Regions from separate parts of the Homo sapiens genome. Here all the other regions are linked to region 1. Evidence: promoter capture Hi-C in human tissues and cell types (Jung and others, 2019). All regions are on one chromosome and are shown on one strand. Each heading gives the region's core, a stretch centred on a gene start or on the middle of the fragment in contact. The rest is flanking DNA. Distances are from core to core; before and after follow the strand shown. Region 1 holds the start of SYN3 (synapsin III). Region 2 has its middle 30 kb from the start of LARGE1-AS2. Region 3 overlaps LARGE1 (LARGE xylosyl- and glucuronyltransferase 1). Region 4 has its middle 75 kb from the start of LARGE1-AS2. Region 5 overlaps SYN3 (synapsin III).

What was found. The method cuts DNA at HindIII sites, captures the fragments that hold promoters and counts their contacts. A contact is called where the count stands out against the background at its distance.
Region 2: a fragment that was not itself captured here is called in contact with the fragment with the promoter of SYN3 in region 1 in 6 of the 25 tissues and cell types used here (H1 embryonic stem cells, dorsolateral prefrontal cortex, heart left ventricle and 3 more).
Region 3: a fragment that was not itself captured here is called in contact with the fragment with the promoter of SYN3 in region 1 in 1 of the 25 tissues and cell types used here (lymphoblastoid cells).
Region 4: a fragment that was not itself captured here is called in contact with the fragment with the promoter of SYN3 in region 1 in 2 of the 25 tissues and cell types used here (dorsolateral prefrontal cortex and lymphoblastoid cells).
Region 5: a fragment that was not itself captured here is called in contact with the fragment with the promoter of SYN3 in region 1 in 3 of the 25 tissues and cell types used here (IMR-90 fibroblasts, lymphoblastoid cells and thymus).

The regions. Positions count from the first base shown.
Region 1 is chr22:33,057,075-33,059,774 of GRCh38, reverse strand. SYN3 (synapsin III) reads left to right here and starts at 1,394. Exons shown (of 14, transcript NM_003490.4): 1 at 1,394-1,483. The HindIII fragment of the contact is 13,516 bases long and covers 1-2,700 here.
Region 2 is chr22:33,192,930-33,195,650 of GRCh38, reverse strand. It overlaps a transcript of LARGE1 not described here. Among named protein-coding and RNA genes, the nearest start is that of LARGE1-AS2, 30 kb to the right of the region's middle. The HindIII fragment of the contact is 5,925 bases long and covers 1-2,721 here.
Region 3 is chr22:33,279,165-33,281,864 of GRCh38, reverse strand. The region is part of intron 13 of LARGE1 (LARGE xylosyl- and glucuronyltransferase 1); the gene reads left to right. Among named protein-coding and RNA genes, the nearest start is that of LARGE1-AS2, 120 kb to the right of the region's middle. The HindIII fragment of the contact is 6,242 bases long and covers 1-2,700 here.
Region 4 is chr22:33,238,316-33,241,029 of GRCh38, reverse strand. It overlaps a transcript of LARGE1 not described here. Among named protein-coding and RNA genes, the nearest start is that of LARGE1-AS2, 75 kb to the right of the region's middle. The HindIII fragment of the contact is 4,291 bases long and covers 1-2,714 here.
Region 5 is chr22:32,893,116-32,895,815 of GRCh38, reverse strand. All of the region lies in intron 4 of SYN3 (synapsin III), which reads left to right. Among named protein-coding and RNA genes, the nearest start is that of TIMP3, 93 kb to the right of the region's middle. The HindIII fragment of the contact is 4,957 bases long and covers 1-2,700 here.

The sequences.
Region 1 (2,700 bases), core at 145-2,644:
ATGCTGAGTCACCCCATGGCACAAGGCAGAACAAGAGAGCAGCAGAGGGGTGGGGAGAGGGCCACTCCTGGCATTAATGGAATCACCTCTTAAAGGTCCCACCTCTCAACACTGTTGCATTGGGGATTAAGTTTCCAAGATATGAACTTTGGGGAACATATTTAAACCATAGCATCCCCTAAATCCAGCCTAATCCATCATCAAGCCTTCCTGTGCTACTTTTGACACACATTGCAGGAGGTCCACCTTTTCCGTATCTTGCTGTCACCACCCTGGTCTTCATCACCATAATCTCTTGCCTGAATTGTTCCCTCCAGATTGATATGACAAAGCCCTGACCCTCACGGTGGCCTACAAGGTTCTGGGTGATGGTGATTCCACACTAGTCTACCTCTCTGGCTGTAACCCACTCTCCCCTTGCTCACCTCACTCAGCCACCCTGGGGGCCAGTTCCAGCTTCAGAACCATGCATCGGCCGACCCCTCTGTCAGCAATGCTCTTGCTTCAGCCCTGGAATCGTTTTTGTCCTCCAAGTATCCAATATCACAAGCGGCCCGGAGACCACCCTAGGTATAGCAGTCCTAGACCCCTTTCTTTTTCTTTTCTTTTTTTTGGAGACGGCATCTAGCTCTGTTGCCCAGGCTGGAGTGCAGTGGCTCTAACTCGGCTTACTGTAACTTCCACCTCCCGGGTCCAAGCAATTCTGCCTCAGCCTCCCGAGTAGCTAGGACTACAGGTGAGGGCCACCATGCCCAGCTAATTTTTGTATTTTTAGTAGAGACGGGGTTTTATCATCTTGGCCAGGCTGGTCTTGAACTCCCGACCTCGTGATTCACCTGCCTCGGCCTCCCAAAGTGCTGGGATTACAGGCGTGAGCCACAGGCACCCAGCCGACATTCTCTTGTTTTTTTCGTTTGTTGTATATAACCTACCCCCACCTCCACCCCATGCAAAGTCCACGAGGACGATAGACTTTGTCTTGTTCCCTGTTGCATCCTGGCCCTAGGGCCTAGCCCACAACCTGGGACATTTCCTGACAAGGGGCCCTGGTTTCTCTGAGGTGCCACCTGAGGTCCGGGAGGTCAGCTGACTTTCCCAAAGGTGGATTCCAAGGACACTGCATTCTTCGCACTCCCCGAGGGGCGTCTAGACACTCCTGGGACCCAGAATTATTAGCTAACTGGGCTCCTGAGTCCGGTGAGAGCTCAGAGTCTAGAAGCAACTTTCCCTGCCTGGAGAGGTGAACCCAGCAAGGCGTTGGGGAGAGGCGTGGGCGAGGGAGTGGGCGCGGGTGGGCGGGGCCGTCCGGGGGCCTCGTTGCCCGAGCCAATGGGGCGCCGCGGCGCGGGGAGGCCGGGCCGCCGGGCGGGGGCGCTCGCGCGCGTTGAGGGGCAGAGGCTGAGCTCCCGGGACCCGGAGCGGATCGACTGGCGGGCGCCGCGCCGAGGCACCACCGGGCGCCGAGTTCCTGGCGGCTCGCACGGTAAGCGGCGCGGCGCCGCAAAGTAGACTTTGTGGGGTTTCTGACAGCCGGGAGACCCCACCTCGAGCGGGGGCTGCTGGTGCGTTCTCGCGTCGGGCTGCGTCCCCTGGAGCTCCGGCTCTGTGTCCGCGGGATGCGGGCGCACGGAGGGGCAGGGAGGGAGGCAAGGAGCCGCGCACCACGGTGTCTCCCCAGGCTGCCGCTGCCGGGGCCCTGGGCCGGTCCCTGGGACAGACAGATCGGCGTGCGGGGGCCGTCTGCCGGGCCCGGGAGCCGGGGGCGCGCAAGACTGTGGATCCTAAGACTGCCTCCACCCAGCGCCCGGCCCGGGGAAGAGCTTGCGGGAAACCAGGAACCGCAGCGGCCGGACCTCTGCTCTGCGCCGGCTCCTAGGACCTGCCTTAGGTCCCCAGACCCCTCATGACCTGTTGCCTTGGGTTTGGGAGGTCAGGTTTGTCATGCCATTTCCGATTTCCAGTCATCCTGGGGGCAGGATGAAATTTCAGAGTGGTTTCCTGGCCAAGCTAGAAGCAGAGAATAGCTATGGATACAGCACCTCGTGTATCTATCCAGCACTTACTTGGCTTTTTCTGAGTGCCAGGAACTGTGCCAAGCCCTAGCAGCATGAAGAATGGCCTTTGGGGAGCTTCTGGGGCTAAGAGGGACAGTAGGAGGAGCAATTGCAGTGCAGGGTAGTGCGGAAGACTCGAGATGGAGAAGAGGACGGTGAGGAAGCCAGGAAGGTTTCAGAGAGGAGGTGAGCATTGACTGGAAGTCGGAGGTTTTGCCAGGCTGAAAAGTGTGTTGGGACTGTGAGTTGATAGGGAGCAGGAATTCCAGGTGGGTTTTCTTGTGTAAAGGTAAAGAAACTGAAAAGGTCCGGTGTCCTGACCTAGCACATCAGATAATTCTACAGCAGATAATGGAGTAGGACCGGGTCTTGCTGTAGGTAGGAAATGAGCTCTCGACATGGCAGGAAGCTAAAACCTGCACAGACCTTAAAGTGCAGCCTTAGAATATTTAGAATTTTATCCTGGAATGAAGGAGGGCCGTGGAAGAATTCTGATCAGTGATCAGGTCCCTCTGGCAGCTCTGGGGACAATGGATGGAGGCCGGAGCATCAGAAAGCTGGTAAGTTGTAGTTGTTTTCTGGTCCTTGGCTGCAAATACTCTTCCCTGCTTAAGGGAGCCCCCTCTGCCCGGGAGCCCTGCTCCCT
Region 2 (2,721 bases), core at 150-2,649, 140 kb before region 1:
TTTGATATATTTGCATTTTCATTTAATTCAAACAGTTTTCTGGTTTCTTTTTTGATTTCTTCTTTGACCCATACATTATTGTAAATCTATAATTTAATGTCAAATATTTGTGGTTTTCTTAGTTACCCTTTTGTTACTTGTGTCTAATTTAATTCTGCTGATGTCGGATAAGTATTCTGGGTAATTTCAATCTTTTAATTTAATAAAACTTATTTTATGACCCCAAATATAGCCAATAATGATAAATATAATATAAAATCTTAAAATTAATATGTATTCTGCAATTATTGGGTCGAGTTTTCTACAGATACCAGTTAGTTCAGAATAGTTCATAATGTTCAGATCGTTTCTCTGCTTACCATTTTACCAGTTGCTGAGTGAGGAATGCCCAAATGTCTTACTCTAATTATGGAGTTGTCAACTTACCCCTTTTGGAGATATATAGTTATTATATTTAAGAGCATCTGTTTGAAAGAAGGGTATTTTTCTATACTAAAAGTAACCAATTTAAATCTTGATTGAGATATGACGGTTCTAATAACTTGATACAGGCACATATACTACACCACTTCCTGATAAATGCTTGAACACAGATTTTAAAAAATAAATAGTTGGTTAATTTATTCCTTTAATGTATTATCCCCTTAGCAAGCTGAAAAACCTTGGGCAACTTTAGGGTGTTGACAGGGTAGTTAAAATATCGGAGCAATGAGTTGTCTAGAGATTTGGGGAATAGCAGATGGTTAAGACTCTGGGCTGAGAGTCAAGAGAAGCACTCTTTCTATCAACCTAGGTGTAATGCTGACTGGTCTGGCAAAAGTCACTCCTTCACTCTGGCTCTCTATTCCCCTTTCTGTAAGATTACGCAGTTGGAATATGGAAGTTTAGGAGTCTTCCAGCACTATCATTCCGTGTCCCTGGCATCTCAAGAATGTGGCCTGCAGGGTGGGGCTTGAGAAGAGGCCAGAGAAGAAGCAACAAACCAAACTTTGTCTACTTCCAAGGCCCAGTTTTGACCCTTAATCTTAGTAGAGACTGCAAGAAGTGGATGGACAGAAGTTCTTAACATTCAATGTCAACTTCTCTTAATATCTATACTAAAAATATTTCATATAACCCAGACATTAGGCTCAGAAGAGACTAAAATCCAAAATTTAATCAATTGAATAAACTCTCCATCTCTAAACCTTGAAAATCAAATTGATGGGATAGGAAAATGACAGCTAAAAAAAACTTGGCAAATGACCTTCTGTCCTTAAGTCTGGATATCTGAGGAATGACTAAGAGTTCATGCCGTGCAAGTCTCAGGTAAGTTTATATGTTAAGGACGATTGCAATAAAATAAGCCATTTATCTTTGTTTAGAACTCTTTTCAAAGCACTTTCTTCTGCAATTAATTTATGCCCATAACAACCCCAGGAAACAATTTCACCATAACTTTGGACAAAGAAACATATTTCATTTAGCTATACCATAGATTTTGAAACAGAAGAAGTCAAATTGGGGCCAATTCTCTTTTAGTCTTTATGTAAATAACTGTGAATTATAAAAAGTAAGTATAAAAATTTATGACATGAATAATGCAGACAGTATAAAATTTATCATATTTTGTTAAATAATATATTGTTTTAATAATGTGACATCTATGTTTTTATATATATGTAAAATTATATATAAAATATAAACATATATAACATATAAAACATAATCTATAACATATTTAATATATATAACATATATAATATATAAAACATATATAATATATAAAACATTATATATAATATATAAAAACAATATATATAAAACATATGAACACATATATATATAAATTACTTTTTATAGTCTCACTCTGTCACCCAGGCTGGAGTGCAATGGCAAGATCTCAGCTCACTGTAACCTCTGCCTTCCGGGTTCAAGCAATTCTCATGCTTCAGCCTCCTGAGTAGCTGGGATTACAGGCATGCACCACCACACCTAGCTGATTTTTATATTTTTAGTAGAGATGGGGTTTCACTATGTTGCCCAGGCTGGTCTTGAACTTCTGGCCTCAAGTGATCTGCCCACCTCATGCCTGACCTCCCAAAGTGCTGGGATTACAGGCATGAGCCACCGTGCCCGGCCGACATCCATATTATGTTAACCAGATGTGTAATGCACTGTATAGCACATTAATGCATTCTGATTATCTTCCTGATTTCTTATATCTATCTCTGCTTCTTTCTTTATCACTCTACTCATATGTGATTTGCTGTGATGTTCCTATTTTATCATTTCTTCCTTTGATTTCTTTACTGTCTCTCTTTTTGCTTTTCTCAATATTCTTTGAATGGTTTCCTGCCCATTCGTTCCTTAAACTCTCTTGCTTTTTCACTGATTATAATATTTTTAAAAAGTAATAAAATGGGTTGTACTTAGTGATTTAGGTTAAAATATCCAGAAATTAACTAAACTATACTTTTTTCATTCCTTTGTCTACCCACACTCTTCTCTCTCAGTCTCTCCCTCTTTATTCTTTTTTCCTCATTGCATCCAGAGTATTACACACACACATACACATACACACACACACATCATAAACAGAATCAGAATAAAGTTATATGTGAAAAATAAAAACAAATAAAATGAAAAGTAGGACAATGGAAAAATTAAAATGCAACTTCAAAATGTTAATTTATTAGTTAATTGATCTTCGACAAAGATACCAAGAACACACATTGAGGA
Region 3 (2,700 bases), core at 167-2,666, 220 kb before region 1:
AAAATAACTTTATGAGGTGGGTTGTTCGTTCAACAGTTCAGAGGCTATCATTTTTCACATTTTATACAGATGAAGAAACTGAGGAGTGGAGAGGTCCCAGTAGAGCCAAGACTCAAACTCCAGGCTTCTTCCTCTATCCAGAATTCTGGAAAGTGGCCTGGAAGAGTTAGTAACCCCCCACCCAACCCAAGCCTTCCTTCTTTTCTGAAAGAAATAACTACCACTTATTGTGTGCTTAGCATGTGCCAGGCACCGTGATTACATATTTAATTCTCACAATAAACCTATGTGACAGATACTATCATCCCCATTGCATGGATAATGAAACTGAGGCTCTGAGAAGTTTAATAACTTGCCCAATGACACACAGCCAGTAAATAGCAGAGCCTGGATTCGTACCAGGTCTGAGGAACCTGTGTTCTCAGTCAGAATGCCATCCAGCTACTGATTGAGTCCTGAATTTTTTTTTTTTTAACCAGTGTTTAAAGATGCAGAGTAAAAACTTGCTCCTCAGAATTGAGACTTTCAAACCAAACCTTAATATAAGTCTCCCATGAATGCCATAGTCTGATGGCTGAGCACCTGACACATTTCCAAGGCATCCTTCCTGCCGTCTTCATACCACAGTGAACCGAGAACTCATTTCACAGCCACATTTGTGGCCACAAGAGCTGGGGTGTGGCCTGCTGTGTCCGTGATTGCTGCTCTGGCCAGCAGCTTGCCAGCCATCATGCCAAGTGCTAAGTTACAGCCCTTGTCTCCGAGAAATTGCTATTGTCACCTGCTCTCCAAATAACAAACTCTTCAGCCTCTGAGCAGCCGAAATCTGCTCCCTACCACACCTGGAATGAGAAAACATCCACACCCCTACAAGTCCTCTAGGGCGGTGGCTCCAGAATGCGGTCCCTGGACCAGTGGCTTCAGCATCACTTAGGAACTTGTTAGAAATGCAGAGGCTCAAGCCTAGCCCAGACCTCCTGCATCAGAAACTCTGGAATTGGAACCAGTCTTCCAGATAATTCTAATGCATACTCAAGTTTGAGAACCACTGCTTAAAGCAAAGTGCCCCAAATCTCTTCTCCCCAGTAGCATCCTGTAAGGTGTACCTAGGAAACCTCTCTCATCTTCCCATCCCTTTTTTAGCAGGGAAGGAGGCTACCTGGCATTTGGCAATAGGTCATTCACAGGCTGGGGCTTGTTTTAACGAGAGGTTCATTGTAACTTGACTGCACCCTGTGCTGCCCAGCCTTTCTGCAAGCTGCCAGTGTCCAGGCTAAACTGATCAAAGCTGCCTCCTCAGCCAGATGACTAGAACTGACCCAGCTGTCCCTACAATGGAGTGCAATGGCGCCGTCTCCCCCATTGTTTTCCCTTCCTTTTCACATTATAATTTTCTGAGAGTTTAGATTCTAAAGGTGGATGACCAATAACATGGCTGTCAATATCACTGAGAGCAAGACCACCAGGAATTGACATCATATCTGGGAAGCAAACAAGGAGAAATAATAAAGAGAATTTTCTCTTTCTCTTTTTTTTTTTTTTTTTTTTTGAGGAGTTACCATATATCAGAAACTACTCTGAGTACTGTATGTGAATTAAGTCACATAATCATCATAAATCTATGAAGTAGATATTGCTGTGTCCGTTTTGCCAAGAGAAGGAAACAAAGGTGCCAAGTAGTTAATGTACCCATACCTGTTGAATGACAGAATTGGAACCCAGGCAGGCAGCCTCCAGAACCATTGCTTTTAACCACTTTGTTATAAAACTAGCATTTATTGAATTCCTCTTAGATGTCAATACTGCGCCAGACTCTTTATATTTTCTCACTTAAGCTCTTTGGCAGTTCAACCAGATAGGTATTCTTTTCCCCAGTTGACACAAAAGGAAATTAACGGCTAATTAAAGCATTTTGTTCTGCAAGGCATTCAGCTCCTAAGTGGCAGAGGTGGGATTTGAACCCTGGCCTGATGGCTCCATTGTGCTTTAAAACCTCATACAAGTTCACGGCCATCAGCTGTGCTGTGCCAGTTCTGTTGAAGGCATCAGGTGTTAAGACTGCCCATTCAGCAAGTTCACAAATGGAAAAGCAACTGCTTCTGGGCCTAATTGTTGGATCATGCCCGAAATTGACATCTCCCGCAATATCCCTTTTCCACACTCCATGAAAATGGCATTGCTTCACCTTTCATTTTTCTTCCATTTAAGTGGCTTTGGTTTTGATGGAAGTTGCTGTGTTGATGGAGCTGAAGTTCAAGTTCCTGCCCTCCCCTAGCCTGGCTGTCTCACCCAACAGCACAACTTGATCAAAGCCCACCCATTGGCCAGTGCCCATTCAGCTGCACTGGCCAGTTCCCTGAGGGTTTGGGGGGAGTCCAGCCTCAGTGGTAGAAAAGCAAAAGAAGGAAGCAGTTGCATTCCCTGCCAGAAAGTGTCCCATTGGCCACACGGAACACTCAGTCTCACTTAGCGCCTCCCTTGCTTTGGAGAGACTGCCCACAGGATGAGATGGAACCCAGACTTCCACTTCCTCTCTCCCTGCAGCTATGCTCTTGGGTTCCCACCCTTCTGTCTTGTTTTCATTTCATGAAGCTTTTCTTTCCAGCTCTGGATACTCTTCCTAACTCTTCTCTTGGGCCCTGTCTAGTCCTTCACTAGATGCCCAGCTTCCTGCCGTCTCTCTGTAGCTTCTAGAGGCAT
Region 4 (2,714 bases), core at 86-2,585, 180 kb before region 1:
ATAATACTAAGTAGATAGACTGAGCAGCACTCCTCCTGGGAAGAATGAGACAAGCCCTGAATTTGGAGGTAAGTTGTGGATTGGTGATTAGAGGAGAGGTAACAGGCACCAAAGCAAGAAATAGTATTGATGCAAAGCTGAGGTTAATTGGATGACAAAATGAAGAGCATAAGGGGCTCAGACACAGACTGAGCAGAAAACGAGTAGCATCTGAACCTAGATTGAGTTACTAATGGATGAGAAAGAGTTCTTAAAGTTGATGACCACGGGATCCATATATAAGAATGTCCAATCTCCCCAAATTGATCCACGAGTTCAGTGCAATGCCAATCAAAATCCCACTAACAAGTTTATTTTAAAATGTAAATGAAAATACAAAATTTTTAAAAAGCAAAGCAATATTGAAAACCCAGGAAAAATTAGGAGGACTTACACAACCTGATCTCAAAACTTACCATTATCAAGACAGAGTGTTATTGACACAAGGAGAGACAAATAGATAAACGGAATGTGGTAGTCTGGAGATGCACCCACATGTATGTGGTCAATTGATTTTTGGCCAAGGCACCAAGTCAATTCAAAGGAGCAAGGAAAGTAGTACAGAAACAACCAAATATTGTTTTGGAAAATAATGACAAAGGGCTTATAACCAGAATATAAGCATATAAATATAATTCTTTCAAATCAATAATAAGAAGGCAAATATCTAATAAAAATGAGCAAAGACTTGAAAAGTCACTTAAAAAGGCTTATTAATTAGAAATATGCAAATGTTATTAGTCTTCAGTGGAATTTACATTAAACCACAAGGGATACTATTATATCTTATGCCCACTAGAATAACCAAAGGAAAAAAGACAGACAAAACAAAATGCTGGTGAGGATGTGAAGCAACTGGAACTCTCATACATTATTGGTGGTAATGTAAAATTTATACAACCATTATGAATAAAGGTTTGGCAGTTTCTTACAAAGTTGAATGCACTTCTCCACGATGACTAGGCTTTTCACTCATAGGCGTCTGGCTCCCTAGAACTGAAAACATATGTTCACAAGAAGACTTGCAAATATATATTCTCCCACGTCAGGAGATATTTGCTATGCATTTAACTGACATAAGATTAGTGCTAGAGTTTATAATGAGGTTCTTCAAATCTAAAAGAAAATGCAAAGCATATAATAGTAAGGGGTGCAGGCCAGGCGCAGTGGCTCACTCTGTAATCCCAGCACTTTGGGAGGCCGAGGTGGGCGGATCACAAGGTCAGGAGTTCGAGACCAACCTGGCCAACATAGTGAAACCCTGTCTCTACTAAAAATACAAAAACTAGCCAGGTGCGGTGTCATGCACCTGTAGTCCCAGCTACTCGGGAGGCCGAGGCAGGAGAATCACTTGAACCTGGGAGGTGGAGGTTGCAGTGAGCCGAGATCGCGCCACTGCACTCCAGCCTGGGTGACAGAGTGAGACTCTGTCTCAAAAAAAAAAAAAAAAAAAAAGAAAAGAAAAAAAGAAATAGTAAGGCGTACAAAAGATGTGAAAAGATAATTCACAGAGGAAACATATGGAAGTATTGTCAGCTTAATAACCAGGAAAGTGCAATTAAAACCATTGTGATATACCATTTCACACCCGTTTGGTTTCAAACAACAACAACAAAAATCTGTTGATACTAAATGCTGGCCAGCCTGTGTGTAAGTGGGCACTATCTTCCTGGTAGGACTGTAAATTACACTAATTGCTTTGGAAAGAAGTTGGCAATATGTATTTAAGTAGACTGTGTATATACCCTTTGATGCAGCAATTTCACTAGGTATGTACCCATCCCCTTAAATTCCAGCATGAACAGAGAAACAATAATGTTTAGCATAGTATTCTATTATGGTTTATAAAATATGCAGGTCTGTTGAGGTTTTTTTTTTTTTACATTCCTAATAAGGTTAATTTTTGCCTTCTCTCTCCTTTTTGCGATTAATCTTGCCAAAGTTTTAATTTATTTGTTTTTTGAAGATAACTTTGATTTGATCTTATTTTTTTTCTATTTTATTAATTTTGACTCTTACTTTTATTATTGCTTCCATTCTATTCCTTTTGGATTTAATCTGTTATTTCTCTTTGATCTTCTTAAATGTAACCACTTCCTAAATTATTTTCAGTGTTCCTTATTTCTCAATATATGAATTTAAGGCTATACATTTTCCAGGAACCACTACTTCAGTAATGTCACAAAGGGTTCTGTATGTACTGGTTTCATTGTTATACGATGCTTAATGTTTGCTAATTCCATTGTAATTTTTCCTTCAAACTATGAATGATAAAGATGTGTATTTTCAGTTACCAAGTGAGTGTGGCTTTATATTCTTGTTATTGATTTCTAATTTTATGGCACTGTAAAATATTTATTCTTTGGTACTTGCTGAGATTTTACTTATGGGCTATTCTGTGGTCAATTTTTTCAATAATTTCACATAAGCCAGAAAGCAAATGCATTTTCTTTGGTGGTAAATTTCTCTATTTTGTCCATTAGCTCAAGTTTGCTCATGAGATTGTTTAAATGTTCTAATTCCCACTAATATTTGGTATACTAAATATATCAGTTCCTAGGACAGATATTGTCAAATCACGCCCTATGATTATAGATATATTACTTTTTCTTTGCAATTATGTCAGTTTTTGAGGTTCTCTGGCTAGCCACTTACAGGATCAAGATATATTCCAG
Region 5 (2,700 bases), core at 1-2,500, 160 kb after region 1:
ACTCTGCTGGCTCCCTTTGAACCCCTCACTCAGAGCCGTGCATCTAAGAGACACTTGGAAATGTTTGTCGGTTTCATTTAAGGCCATTGTGTAACCCGAGAAATAAGGCTTAGAGATGGGAGATAATTGCATGCGTCAGGAATGCTTTTAGCTGCAAGTAACAGAAAACCTGACATGTAGAGGCATAGGCAATAAAGACATTTCTTTTTCTCACATAGCAAGAGTCTAGGTGTTTCCAGATTTGGTGCAATGAGAGGTTTGCTGTCAAGGATCAGGTCACTCTTTGCCATTCTTTCCTGTCATTCTTAGATTATTGGCATTTTGTTATCATGCTCAATACTATACTGTCTGTATTAGTCTGAGTTCTTCAGAGAAACAGAACCAATAGTAGATGATAGATAAATAGATAGATAGATGTACATGCAAGTATAGCTACAGATTTACTATAAGGAATTGGCTCACTGGATTATGGAATCTGAGAATTCCAGGATCTGCTGTTGGCAAGCTGGTGACCCAGGAGAGCCAATGGTGTGAGTCCCAGTCTAAGTCCAGAGTCAGGAGGAGACTGATGTCCTAGTTTTCAACACACCTGCTAATAAAAATTATTAATTACTCATTCACTGATTTCCCACACTATCTAACATTTCCATATGATGAAACTTCGGCTCACTCCTTGGTGCCTGCCTAATCCTTCAGATCATTACAGGATTATTCTTAGCCATGCACTACACATCAGACACTTCAACTGCCTTCTCTTCAGTCACTCATATCAGCTGAGATGTAAACTACGGCTGAATGGTCCGCTATTTTCATGCTAACGATGCTTCAATATTTTTCATCTGCCTCTTCTTACATGTTGGTGGAGGTTTATACTATGGATCATTTACATTTCTAGAAACCTGAAATATTGGCATTATCCTCCTACTCACAACTCCTACTTCAACAGGCAGGCAGGGAGAGCGAATTCTCCCTTACTCAGCTTTTTATTCTATGCAGGCCTCCAGCAGATCTGATGAAGCCCACCCACAATGGCTCAGGCAACCTGTGTTACTCAGTCTATAGATCCAAATGCAAATCTCATCCAGAAACACCCTTACAGTCATACCCAGAATAACGTTTAATCAGATGTTTAAACACCTGTAGCCCAGTCAAGTTGACACATAAGATGAACCATCTTGCTGTCCCAACTTGACTGCCACAGGTGGAGGCATCATGTCAATGTCAGGTCAGGATGACGGGGTCGTGCCTGGTGGCTCTTCTCCTCTCAGGCCTCCTCCTTTAAGACACTTTGCCAGAAGTCCTTAGCAGATTTCTGTGTTGGCCTCATTGACCAGAATTGGGTCACGTGTCACTAGCACTAGCTACAAGGGAGCCTGGCAAGATTGAATATCTGGATTTCCACCCTCTGCAATAGAAAGAGACAAAAGAGAGGAAGGTTGTAGTTGTTGGGTTAGCCAACCCACAGCATTTATCAGAGCAGCCTGTGCAAAGTCACAGAATCAGTAGTAGGAACAGAATTAGGACCCTTGACTGTTTTCTTCTTCTATAATATGTAAAAGAGAAGGACATTTTATTCTCTAGGCTACAATTTGGTGACTGAAGCCTTTACTCCACAGTTCTCCAATTTCTGTTTCTTAGCAGTGATTCACCAGGCCCTTGCTCTCAGTTTATTGCGTAGAAGACATAAGTATTACAAGGTGAAGACTTTCAGAGGATAAATGACACACAAGTAGGCCAGTAACAGGGTCCCAGGATCTTGTCTACCCTAGAACAAGACTCGATCCAGTTGGACCAATGCTTATTGAGTGTCCACTGTCTGATTGTCATAGTATAGGCTGTGATAACATTGCAAGAAAGAAGGTACCATCATCTGTGCTCTTGATGAGCTCACAGCTTGGTGGAAAACCAAGTTGTGAAACAAATGTGCACTGTTGAAGGACTGAGGGCCATGAGAGAGGAATGTATGTGATACAGTGAAGCCCAGCAAGGGACAGGCCAGCTCACTGCCATGTTCAAAGAAGGCTTTCTTTGCGAAGAAGGGGATATTGAAGCCAACTGGAAGGATGAGTGGGTATTTTCCAAGCAGACAAAATAGAGGAGGGCATTCTATTCCAAAGGAATAGCATATACAGCATGTGGAGGTGTGGACCAGTTGGGTTTGCTCAGGTCTTACCAGACTCTGGAGTGAAAATGCTCCTTCCCCACACGTGGACAGTCACTCAGCTACAAAGTGCTTATGCAAGTGTTCTCTTATTGGAGTTCCTTAATTCCTAATCTCCACTTACTGCCAAACTCTACTGATTTTTAAGACTCTACTGAAGGGTTGACTCCTGCAGGAGACAATATCCTGGGCCCCTGTTACTGTGTCAACTGACAAAGGCTCCTTTCTCTGTTCCTGTGGTGTCCTCACCATTTTCCTTACCATGTTGGCAATGTCTCTGTCTATGTGAGTCTCTTCCAGGGCTCCATGAGCTCCGTGACAGCAAAGAATGTGTCTCATGCATCTCCACAGCCCAGTGCCTACGGCAGTGCCAGGTATCCAATTAATCCCAATGTATAGTTGAGGAATGGAGTGAATGGATAAGTCCTGGGAGGGGGGCAGAGCAAACATTGATTATTCTCATACGCAAATGGAGGAAGTGCAGATGAAGAAGGGTCAGAGTGTTGGGCCCCTGGTCATAAAAGTGAGAGCGAGACTAG